Linked DNA regions of Homo sapiens: all the other regions are linked to region 1. Evidence: promoter capture Hi-C in 16 types of primary human blood cells and fetal thymus (Javierre and others, 2016). All regions are on one chromosome and are shown on one strand. The core of a region is centred on a gene start or on the middle of the fragment in contact, and the rest is flanking DNA. Distances in the headings are between cores, read along the strand shown. Region 1 holds the start of TRAIP (TRAF interacting protein). Region 2 overlaps RNF123 (ring finger protein 123). Region 3 overlaps RBM6 (RNA binding motif protein 6).

Region 1 (3,506 bases), core at 648-3,147:
ACCTCCTTGCTCTTCCTAGATGCCCACCTCCTACAATCTCAGCCCACAAGTCCTCTCCACCCTAGGGGGCTTGCTGCATGGCAATAACTCATAATCTGATTTGGAGGTTTGCCCTTTACAGGGGCAGATTTTCTGCTCAGTTCAACAATGAAATGAAGAGGAACTCCCTCTTTCTACAGCTCACTTCTATCAGAGGCCCAGGTGCCTCAGAGCCACATTGAGTTGCTTTTTCTGGGATGAGGAAGTAGGGTTAAACTCCCCAGTTTCCTGAGGGAGGCTCCTGACAGGTGCCCTTTGTCAGACCCTACCACAGCCTGGATAGGCAGCCACATTGGTCCTCGCCCTTGCTCGGCACTCCGTGGTGGTCCTGCCCTTCTCCCTGCATGCCTGTGGGTCTGCTCTGGTGTGTGAAGGTCGGTGGGTTAACTGTGTGCCTACTGAACCTGGCAAATAAACATCACCCTGCAAAGCCTCTGGCCACCCTCTCGCCTTTGCTTCCTCTGTCCTACTGGGGAGGAGCCCCTGGAAGGCAGTGGGGAAGGGAGAGGCTGGGAGCAGGTTCACAAGTAGTGGCTGGGAGTAGTAGTGAACAGTGCCCTGTGGATTTCTTGGGCTGAGGGTGAAGATCATCCTCACCACAGTGTATTCCTCAATGGTGGTGGTGGTGGGGGTCCTCTGAACTCTAGAAATCCATGTGAGTAGTGGGTCTTGGGCTGCATTTGGACCAAGGAATACTCCCTGGGCTGAGAGCTCAAGTAAGGGCTGCTGTTTTTGACTCCTGTTGACCGAGGAGCCTTACTCTTGATTTAGGCATAGAGCTGGAATCTACCTGGGCCAGCCACCGCAAGGACAGACCCTGCTCATAGCCAAAGATAGCTTCCCTGAGCTAGGGAGAGGGTGTAGGGTGAGCAATGCACAAAGATTCTATGCTGCTCTGTGTTGATTCCTTCTTTCTGTGAACACCTGTGCTTTCCACCTATGCCCCAAATGAAATCTCACTCTGGGTCTATTTCAGCTGGAGCAGATCAGCTTTATATTATGGGACTATGCACAGGGTTTCTTCTGGGTAGAGGGAGTAACACTGCCACAGATACTAAGCCTAAAAACCCAAAAGTTGACTTACTCCAGCCCAGGTGGGCCTGGGTGAACTCACCAGGGATGCTGCTCTCTGGGAGGACCTCAAAGATAACCTCCTCAAAGATAACTTCTCTGATGTGGGAATAATAAAAAGGATTTGTTAGTCTCTAGTCTTTGAAGCATCTGGGCCTCCAAAATTCCAACCCTACTACAGTCTCAAGCATAACTGATCCTCCTGAGAGCTAAGAGCTAAAGTCAGGGTACTGGCCCTAGTGTCTCCAAACTCAAGGATAGTCATATCTTACTTGGATGAAGCCAAGGTTGGCCTGGGGTGACCTGAGGGACTGGGGCCTATGTGTCCATCTTTCTAGAATCGCCCGGAACTGAGGACTGAGAGGGTAGGGTATTGTGGTCTATGGGAACTACAGACCATAGCGCATGGTCCATCACTGTCCAGAGCCCAAGGGACCCATCGGGACCATTGTTCTATTCCCTTGCGGCTGCGGTTTTCTCTGCCTTGGCCCAGCCTGCCTCGCGCCAGCTCTGGCATGGGACCACAATGCGCTGCCTTGCCCTGGAAAAGGGTCCAGCTGGCAGCCTCGCTGCTCCCCGCCTTGATATAATGCTGCGCTCTCAAGTGGCAGGTCGAGTCTCCCCAGAGGACGCCTGAGAGCGACCGCGCTCCGCCCAGGATTCTCTACGGCCTCGGGGCCGCTAAGCCCCGCCCATAGTTCCGCCCATCCGAGAATTTGTCCAATCCAGGCGAAGTATTCACGCTCCGCCCAAAGTTTTGTGTTGTCACTTCCGGCCCGCTCCAGGAAGTCGTGCTGCGGAGCCAAATTTGAAGCAAGCGGAGGCGCGGGGGCGCGTCTACGAAGCCGGACCTGTAGCAGTTTCTTTGGCTGCCTGGGCCCCTTGAGTCCAGCCATCATGCCTATCCGTGCTCTGTGCACTATCTGCTCCGACTTCTTCGATCACTCCCGCGACGTGGCCGCCATCCACTGCGGCCACACCTTCCACTTGCAGTGGTGAGTGACTGCAGTGTTGGGGCCCGGTGTTTGCCCGGGTACCGCTTCAGGGCCTTGAGGTGTTGGGCCTCCAGGCGGTCCAACCCCGGAATCCAGACAAGTGATGAGAACCTTCCTCCTAGACGAGGCCCCACGGGAGCTTCCCAACCTGGGCAGAAGTGGGTCAGGACAGGCTTTCTGGTAGAGGTGATAGCTGAGCTAAGCCTGAGGGGGACTAAGATGGCTCAGTGAAGATAGATGCTTCCTTGATCACCTATACAAACAGATGTGATTTCAAAACCGTTAGCCTGGGCAAGGGTGAGCTTTCACCACATCAACAAGTCCTTTTATTTCTTCCAGATAGAAACCTGCTAGGCTTCTGGCTACCCAAGAGAGTTTGCTGTGCCTTACTTGATGGTTTGGAATTATTCTACCCAGAGTCATCTCACTGTCCAGACACCCCAATGTATTCGCCATGTCAGCAAACCCGTTTAACATGGGGAAGGCAAGGAGATGCTCCCCTATCCAGGGGTCCTGCTGACCGTGTAGGGCCATTCTGTTGAGTGTACAGCTAGTGGGGAAAGATTCCCCTAGCAGATGTGGACAGGCCGGTTTGGACCTCCTAGCAAAAGAGATAAGGCAGCGTTACCCCTGGGAATGGTGGGTGATAATAATCACAGGGTCTTGTGGGGCTAAAGGCCCTAGGAAGCAGAAAGGCAGGCATGACACTGATGGCTGCTGGCTTACTTGCAAAGCTTTGTTTAGGCCTGTGTTGCTGACAGCCTGAGCCCCATGCTGAGGGAGCCACTGCTGTTTGGTTAGACTAGAAATTAAGCTCGCCTCTAAGCGTACTCTATTTTCTGTTTGCCTACTCTATTTTCTTCTATCCTTTTACTTTATTTATTTATTTTTATTTTATTTTATTTTTGAGATGGAGTCTCGCTCCTGTCGTGTAGGCTGGAGTGCAGTGGCGTGATCTCGGCTCACTGCAACCTCCACCTCCTGAGTTCAAGTGATTCTCCTTCCTCAGCCTCCCAAGTAGCTGACATTACAGGCGTGCGCCACCACGCCCAGCTAATTTTTGTGTTTTTCATAGACAGGGTTTCTCCATGTTGGCCAGGCTGGTCTCGAACTCCTGACTTCAGGTGATCCACCCACCTTGGCCTCTCAAAGTGCTAGGGCCTATCCTTTTACTTTAAACTTTTCTGTGTCCTTGTGTTTTACATGTATCCCTTGAAACAGCATTTATTTCTTTTTTTGTATATTAAAAAGTACTTTAGCTTACTGCAAAGATCTTTATTTTATTTTATTTTGAGACAGGGTCTCACTCTGTTACACAGGCTGCAGTGCAGTGGTGCCATCTCGGCTCACTGCAGCCTCTACCTCCTGGGCTAAGGTGATTCTCCCATCTTAGCCTCCCAA
Region 2 (3,941 bases), core at 73-2,572, 150 kb after region 1:
GCCAGGCACGCCCGACCCCTATGGCGTGGGTGCTGGCGGGAAAGAGAAGCTGCCCAGATGTAGGGCAGGCAGATCAGTGTCTCCCTGCCTGAGTGGGTGGAAAGACTTGGGCACCCTCTGGTGGCCATAGGATGGCTCAGCATCCACAGCAGAGCAGGCTCAGGGACAGTCCCCCACCTGGCCCCAGAACTGCTCCCGGCCCACAGGCCTGTACACACCTTTGAGGGTCTTCCGCAGGTGCGAGAGGAGGCCCCCCAGGCGCTGCAGGTCAAAGTAGTCCACCTTGCCATTATAGAAGACCTGGGGCGGGATGTAGGCCTCTGCGAGGAATTGAGGAGGCTAGGCCAGTGGTCACGGCCCAGTAGGAAGACCCTCCCCACAGCCCTCCCCTCCAATCTGGCCTAGCACAGCCTGGGAATTCTGGCTTTGGCCACTCACCCATCCAGGCAGACAGAGAAACTGTCTCCTGGACCAAGAAACAGACCTCCCCTACCTCTTCTCCACCCCTGCCATTTCAGGTCAGAGCCAGCAGCTGCATAACTTGGGGTGATGGGGGTACTCATGGCAGCCGTTCACTCAGGAGAAGCAGAGAGGCCCAGCCCCAGTCCTGTGGGATATCCCCCAATCCAGGGCAGGTAAGGCTCCCACTGACCCTTGGGGACTCAAACACAGGGCCCCCCAGCACCCACCCAAGGCAGCCCTATAAAGGACGCACAGAGAAATGGGGGGGCAAGGACGGAAGAAAAGAGCCCACAATGGTAGGAGCCCGTGGGACAATCAGAGCAAACACAGGATCGGCAGGCCTGCGGTGCAGGGCTCCTGCTGCCCCAGTGGAGAAGCCGCCTGTGGCTGGGTAGGACTCAACCAGGCAGGATGCCGGGGACAACTCCCCACAGCCCACAGCCTCAGCTCAGCACTCTGCACTAACATTAGGGGCTGCCCTACGCCTGGCTCTGTCCAGCCTCACTGACCTGGGACCCCGGTGCCACTCACCCTCACTGAAGGAAGCATGAGGATTGGAAGCCTTGTATTCATCCCAATAGTAGCGCAGGGCAGAGATCAGCCGGTGTAAGAAGCAGACCATGTACTCAGGGGGGCAGAGCATGGGCATGTTCTGTGGACACCAGGCATGAAACATGCATTGGTGCCAGTCCAGTGCCTTGCCCATTCCTCATCCAAGGCCCTGCCTGAGGGTCGAGGGTTAAGCAGGGAGGGAAAAGCAGCAGAGAAAAGCTTGGGGCTAGGCAGGGATGAGGCAGTCCGAGAAGTGCCAGGTGCTGAGGGCATGGCATGTGTAGTGCAGCCGGGGATCCACAGTGGGCTGGCCTGGAGGACACCTACCCCCCGGCCACTGGCGTTCTCCTGCAGAAACTTGCGAAACTTGGTCAGGAAGATATACCTAGAAGCTTCACCCTTTGAGAGAGGGAAAAGTGAGGCTGTGCTGAGCTGAGAATGCAGGCCCAGACTGGGCTGGCTCAGTGCTGCACCTTCCCCCAGCCCCTGCCATGGGAACCAAACCCAGTTCCCACCCTCTGGGTCTTAAGGCCCAGTGCAGCATCCCTCCCCACAGGGCCCCACCCAGGGCTCCTGGGAGTCACTCACCCCATTGTCATCTTTATTGTCCAGCAGCAGCTTCAGGATCTGGACCTGTAGTTCTTCCACCACTGGAGGTCAGGTGAGGAACATGGCCCTCAGGCTCCAGGAGATGGGGGGCAGGTTTGGGCCAGGGCTCCACCACCAGGGTTCCCCAAGTCCCACCTAGACATGGGCACCTCCAAGCACCCTCATGTGCACACACACACCTCCCACCCTACCCCGTGCCCAAGGCGGGCTGACCTTCGATGCGCTTCCTGAGCCGCTGACAGCCCCGTTCGTAGGCTCGCCGCCGCAGCCGCTCCTCTGCGGTCTCCTCCTTCATCTCCGTGCTCTCTTTGCCCTAGGCAGGGGTAGCAGGTGGAATACAGCAGGGTCACCTGGGACCTAGCCAGGCCTCCTTCACTCAGAACACCCACACTCCATCTCCAGGGCTTCAGGGACCAGGGCCAGTGAAAAGGCCTCATGCTAGATGCCCAGTGGCCAGATGCCCAGGCCAGGGGCCTTGCCATGACCTCTGCCCATCCCACTTGGGGTGCACTCACCTCCCTACTGGAGCAGTGGGGCCACCAGGTGGTGGGAATGAGCTCCTGCAGGCCGGCCTCCTCCACACGCAGGGGGCTCTTGATGTAAAAGAAGACGACGGAGCGGAGCACGTCGAAGCTGGCGGGTGTCAAGGCAGGGCTCTGCTTGCCAAAGGGCACTCTGCACACCCTCAAGAGTCCTTCCCCAGGAGCCCATCCCTGGATGTGCCTACCACAGCTCTCCCACCACCACAGGGGCATGTTGCTGCTATGTGTCTGACCCCCAGGGCATGCTCCCTGACAAAAAGCTGTGGTGGTTAAGCCCACCAGCTCCAGTACCCAGCAGGTGCACGATAAGGGCTTGTCACAGGAACAGATGACTGTGGGACAAGCTGGAGAGAGGGACTGGTGGCCTTTTCTCAGGCCCCAACTCTGACCTCTGTGTCTCCCAGCTTTGTGTCTGCCTCCTGGAGGCTGGAAGACCCCAGACCAAGAAAACGGCTACAAGCTGAGGCTTCCCAGCCAGGGGCTCAAAGCTATGCTCTCACTCACTCATGCAGTTCCCAACAATTCTGGGAAGCAGGAAGAGCTGCCTCCTTAAAGATCTTGCAGGAATCCCCACTGTGGAACATGAACAAAAGTGCTGGGCTGTGGCCGAAGAGGGCAGGCCCTGTGGCCCCTCCCACACCTCTGCGTAGCCCGAGTCTGCAGTCATTCAGAACCCCCTGGCTAGGCTGGCTGGCCAGGCTCAGTCCTTTGCTCTCTCGTCCTTGCTCTGTAGAGAAAATGCCACGTTGGGCAGCTCTGGTCCTCCTGATGCTCCCAGGGGACCCCTGGCCTGATGACACTCCCCTTCCTGGCCTCTGCTGAGTCCAGAGGGCACCCCATGTCTGGCCTGCCAGGCAGCAAGGAAAGGATACAGGACATTGCTAAGCAGAAACTTGCGGGACTTCTCATGCCTCAGGATGGCGATAGTGAGCCGCAGGTAATGGATCTGTGGAGAGGGGGCGTTCAGAGTGGACAGGCGAGTCCCAGGGGGCTCAGGGCAGGGGTAGGGGCTCCCACCTGTAGGCCCAGGTCTGGGACAATGGGTGAGAATCGGTACAGCCGAAGCAGAGACATCATCAACTGCTTGAGGCAATCTTGTACCTCGTAGTCCTGGGGGAAGAGATGCCAAGGCAGCCATGACTGGGGCCTTTTCCAAGATTCTCCCCGTATCTTCCCGACCCCAGTGAAGACTGACAGCCAGGCCTGAGGCCTGAGGTCAGGAGCCTCACCTCCATGAAGAGCCACAAGAGGTCCAGGACCTGGTGCACCACGGACTGTGCCTGTGTGGGTGTGCCCTTCTCCACGATGCCCAGCAAGAAGCTCATGAGCACAGCCTCCACCAGATACACCTTGCGCTGCACCAAGGCCAGGCACTGGTGAGGTGGTGGCCTTCCACTCTGGTCAAGGCACCCCTGCCCTGGCACATGGCCAAGGCACAAGCCTCAGGCACAGAGCCTTGAGCCACTCGAGCAACACCAAACATAGATGACCCCTTCCGGGGTCTGACTGAGGGACAAGAAGGCCATTGCCCCACGGCTCCTCTAAGGCTTGGCACACGCAGTTTCCTTGGCCTGGGATGTTATTATCCTTCAGTCTTCTTTCCAGGACATCCCCTGATGCCCTTGGTTGGCAATGTCCCTGTTTCCCTAGGGGACTGACTGAGGTCTGAGGGCCCTGGTCACATGGGGCCCTCGCCAGGTGATGCTGTGGGACCTCAGCACTGCAGCCCTCAGTGAGGGCACATCTACCACGGGCGTGTCTAGCATGGCCTGTCTC
Region 3 (4,023 bases), core at 1,385-3,884, 210 kb before region 1:
GTCTTCTTCATTCTCCTTCTTGGTTTGCTCCTCTCGCTTCTGGGGCTGTGCTGTGCGGGGCTGTGGGGGAGGGGTCTGTTCCTCCTCTTCTTCCTCCTCATAGTCACTGTCTCCTCCATATTCACCCAAGAGGCCGATCAGTGGGTTTACCACTTTAGGCTGGAAGGAGAAGGCCAGGGATCAATACCAAATTCAACCTATATTTTGGGGTCCATTTTTTTTGATATTCTGATATGGGCATCTCATTTCATTGAATTGGGTTCAAAATAAACTCACTAGCCATGCTGCTCATTTCCCAGATGAAAGCAACATGGCCAGAGCTTGGCTTTGCTCCTTGTTCATTAAGAATAAACAAGAAAGATTCCTTTAGAAGTGACTCTAGCAACAGAATGTGAGGAGAAGGAAGAGAAAGGAAAATAAACATAGAAAATAGTAAAAGGTTACAAATTACAAAGAGGAAGAGATAAATACCTCCAAATTACTGTAACTCATGGAGGGAAGAAAAGATGACTTTCATTAAGACTCTAGCAAAGAGGATTTAGGAAGTAAACTAAAAGCAACTGCATTAATAGGCACTTGGGTAGACAGATCCAGCTCACATGTAAGGTAAAGGCAAAGCATGGTTAAGACAGATGCCACAATGAGCTGAATTAATAATGCGGAGCAGGAAAAGGGTACCTTATAAGAACTGTTAAATAATGATGCATAATCATTGGTCTATGATCACTCAAAATAAATAAATAATGCATGGTCACTATTGTTATATACCTGCATTCAATCAGAATCACTGGTGATTAGGTTGAGACTACTGCTTGAAGGCATCTAAAAAATGGGCACCAATATTAGCATCATTCACTCTGAACAGGCAGAAACTATAAAAAAATGACCACGCATGCACTCCATATCTAAGAGATTCTTGTGTGATGCCAAAAGGCAGGAAAGATTGAGGCTGAGAAAACGGGTTTCCTTGGTGATTTAGAGAACTGACAAGAACAAGATGATAAAAAGGGCTAGGCATCTCGTCTGGTAAGAATGGCACAGGGCAGAGAGAAAGAGTCCAGATAACTGCCTCTGGTTCTCCAGTAATACCCCCATTAGCAGACAGAAAACTTTATCTCATGCTTGTACTCAAAAGAAATGGGAATCCTTATTCGGGAGACATAGTGAGGTAAAAGACCAACACCAGAGGAAGGCATCAGCCTTTGCGCTTCCTCTTCTACTCGGAACCATCCCCAGCCCCAGCCCTAGGTCCAGGGGATCAATGTTGGTCTTACTGGAGGGGGACTCTCTTCCTTCTTCACAGTAGGAGGCAGGGGCTTCTTAAAGACGTCTTCTGCAGGGGCCTTCCCTTCACTGGCATTTTCCTGAAACTGATCAAACCAGAGGTAACTCTCACATGATATTCACTCATAATAACTGATAAAGGCTGGGCTGGGTGCGGTGGCTCACGCCTATAATCCCAGCACTCTGGGAGGTCAAGGCAGGTGGATCACAACGTCAGGAGATCGAGACCACCCTGGCTAATGCAGTGAAACTCCATCTCTACTAAAAATACAAAAAATTAGCTGGGCGTGGTGGCGGGCACCTGTAGTCCCAGTTAGTAGGGAGGCTGAGGCAGGAGAATGAACCCGAGAGGCGGAGCTTGCAGTGAGCCAAGATTGTGCCACTGTGCTCCAGCCTGGCCAACATGGTGAAACCCCGTCTCTAGTAAAAATACAAAAATTAGCTGGGTGTGGTGGTTTTGGCCTGTAATCCCAGCTACTTGGGAGGCTGAGGTAGAAGAACTGCTGGAACCTGGGAGGCAGAGGTTGCAGTGAGCCGAGATCGTGCCACTCCATTCCAGCCTGGGTGACAGAGAGAGACTCTGTCTCAAAAAATAAAATAAAATAAAATAAAACGTTAGTATATATTGCATGATTACTGTATGTCAGACCAGATGAGGCATGTATATATAAACATTGTCTTCTTCAGACTTTACTATGATCCTCCTATGTAAGCTTTACTATCTTAATTTTACAAATGATTGGGAATATAGTTTGACAGATTAAGTGGCTGAAGCAGAGTCCAAATATTAAATCAGTATGACTCTAAGTTTTTAAACACACACACACACTCTCTCTCCTCTTTTCTGTATCTCTAAACAACTAACAGTGTTAGAAGGGGAAAAAAAGGCTGGGCGCAGTGGCTCATGCCTGTAATCCCAGCACTTTGGTAGGCTGAGGTGGGCGGATCACAAGGTCAGGAGTTCGAGACCAGCTTGACCAACATGGTGAAACCGCGTCTCTACTAAAAATACAAAAATTAGCTGGGCGTTGTGGCAGCGCCTGATATCCCAGCTACTCAGGAGGCTGAGGCAGGAGAATCCCTTGAGCCTGGAAGGCGGAGGTTGCAGTGAGCCGAGATAGATCACGCCACTGCACTCCAGCCTGGGCGACAGAGCGGCTCCGTCTCAAAAGAAAAAAAAGGGAAAAAAAGGTGTTATGAATTGAATCACAAGCAAATTCATCCATTTTCACTAATGCATAACTGATATCAAGGTAGGTGTGATCTTGGCTCACTGCAACCTCTGCCTCTCAGGTTCAAGAGATTCTCCTGCCTCAGCCTCCTGAGTAGCTGGGACTACAGGCTTGCGCCACCACGTCCAGCTAATTTTTGTCTTTTTAGTAGAGATGGGGGTTTCACCATATTGGCTAGGCGGTCTCAAACTCCTGACCTAAAGTAATCCGCCTGCCTTGGCCTCTCAAAGTGCTGGGATTACAGGCATGAGCCACCATGCCCGGCAGATTTTCTTTTTTTTTTTTTTTTGAGACAAGTCTGGCTCTGTTGTCCATGCTGGAGTGCAGTGGCGCAATCACAGCTCACTGCAATCTCCTGGGCTCAAGCGATCCTCTTAACTCAGTCTCCCAAGTAGCTTGGACTACAGGCATGCATCACCACAGTAGGCTAATTTTTTTTGTATTTTTGGTAGAGATGGAGTTTCACCATGTTGCTGGTGTCAAACTCCTAAACTCAGGCATCCACCTGTCTTGGCCTCCCAACGTGCTGGGATTACAGGTGTGAGCCACTGCACCCTGCCTAATAATTTGATTTTGTATTAGATGTAAAAATGTTCATCATCTCTGATTCTGAAAATGTGTCATAGGGAGTAATTTAAAAGAAGAAACAAAATGCTAAATGTTATATATTATGACAGTATAAGATTAGAAAGAGGCGAGCAAGGTGGGTCTTGCCTGTAACTGAAGCACTTTGGGAGACTGAGACAGGAAGCTTACTTGAGGCCAGAAGTTCGAGATCAGCCTGGTCAATCTAGCAAGATCCTGTCTCTACAAAAAAGCAAAAATTAGCTGGTCATGGTGGCTCATGCCTGTAGTCCCCGCTACTTGGGAGGCTGAGGTGGGAGGACTGCTTAAGCCCATGGGTTTGACGTAGAAGTGAGCTATGATCATGCCACTGCACTCCAACCTGGGAGACAGAGGAAGACTTTGTCTCAGAAAAAAAAAAAAAAAAAGGAAAAAGAAAAGATTAGAAAGAGAAGACAAATAATGTAGGAGAGATGAAGAAAATGAAGGTACAGTTATACCGTGAATTTTTACCATGTGGGCATTAAAAATAATAGAGTATATAGAAACATGGAAAAAATACTTAGGATAAAAAGTGACTAAACAGTATCTCCTGCTATAATTACAACTAGAGAAATGTGTATAAAGTCAAACACTAAAAAAGGAATGTAGAAAAGTGAAAATGTATGGAGCTGAGGTGTTGGGATTTGAGCTGGGCCACTTTGTTCTACCATCCATAGTTTTCCCATTTGTAAAAGAGAGAGTTGGGATATAAGAGGTGAGGGAATTGCCTACACCAGGTAAAAATACTCATTAACAGAGGTTTTTTTTTTTTTTTTGATACAGAGTCTTGCTCTGTTGCCAGGCTGGAGTGTAGTGGCGCGATCTCGGCTCACTGCAACCTCTGCCTCCAGGGTTCAAGCAATTCTCCTGCCTCAGCCTCCTGAGTAGCTGGGACTACAGG

The links. Contacts are between HindIII fragments. The CHiCAGO score rates a contact against its expected background, and 5 or more counts as called.
Region 2: a fragment that was not itself captured here is called in contact with the fragment with the promoter of TRAIP in region 1 in 6 of 17 cell types (megakaryocytes, naive B cells, endothelial precursors and 3 more); the score reaches 8.3 in megakaryocytes.
Region 3: a fragment that was not itself captured here is called in contact with the fragment with the promoter of TRAIP in region 1 in 1 of 17 cell types (endothelial precursors); the score reaches 5.3 in endothelial precursors.

The regions. Positions count from the first base shown.
Region 1 is chr3:49,854,955-49,858,460 of GRCh38, reverse strand. TRAIP (TRAF interacting protein) reads left to right here and starts at 1,897. Exons shown (of 15, transcript NM_005879.3): 1 at 1,897-2,105. The coding sequence starts at 2,008. CAMKV (CaM kinase like vesicle associated) reads left to right here. Exons shown (of 11, transcript NM_024046.5): 11 at 1-472. The HindIII fragment of the contact is 3,060 bases long and covers 1-2,841 here.
Region 2 is chr3:49,699,806-49,703,746 of GRCh38, reverse strand. RNF123 (ring finger protein 123) reads right to left here. Exons shown (of 39, transcript NM_022064.5): 13 at 3,395-3,520; 14 at 3,183-3,275; 15 at 3,038-3,111; 16 at 2,139-2,256; 17 at 1,837-1,936; 18 at 1,603-1,664; 19 at 1,342-1,413; 20 at 994-1,114; 21 at 219-320. Among named protein-coding and RNA genes, the nearest start is that of RNF123, 12 kb to the right of the region's middle. RefSeq lists a silencer at 1-191. The HindIII fragment of the contact is 173 bases long and covers 1,236-1,408 here.
Region 3 is chr3:50,062,378-50,066,400 of GRCh38, reverse strand. It overlaps RBM6 (RNA binding motif protein 6), which reads right to left. Exons shown (of 21, transcript NM_005777.3): 16 at 1,275-1,370; 17 at 1-159. Among named protein-coding and RNA genes, the nearest start is that of RBM5, 25 kb to the left of the region's middle. The HindIII fragment of the contact is 1,270 bases long and covers 2,000-3,269 here.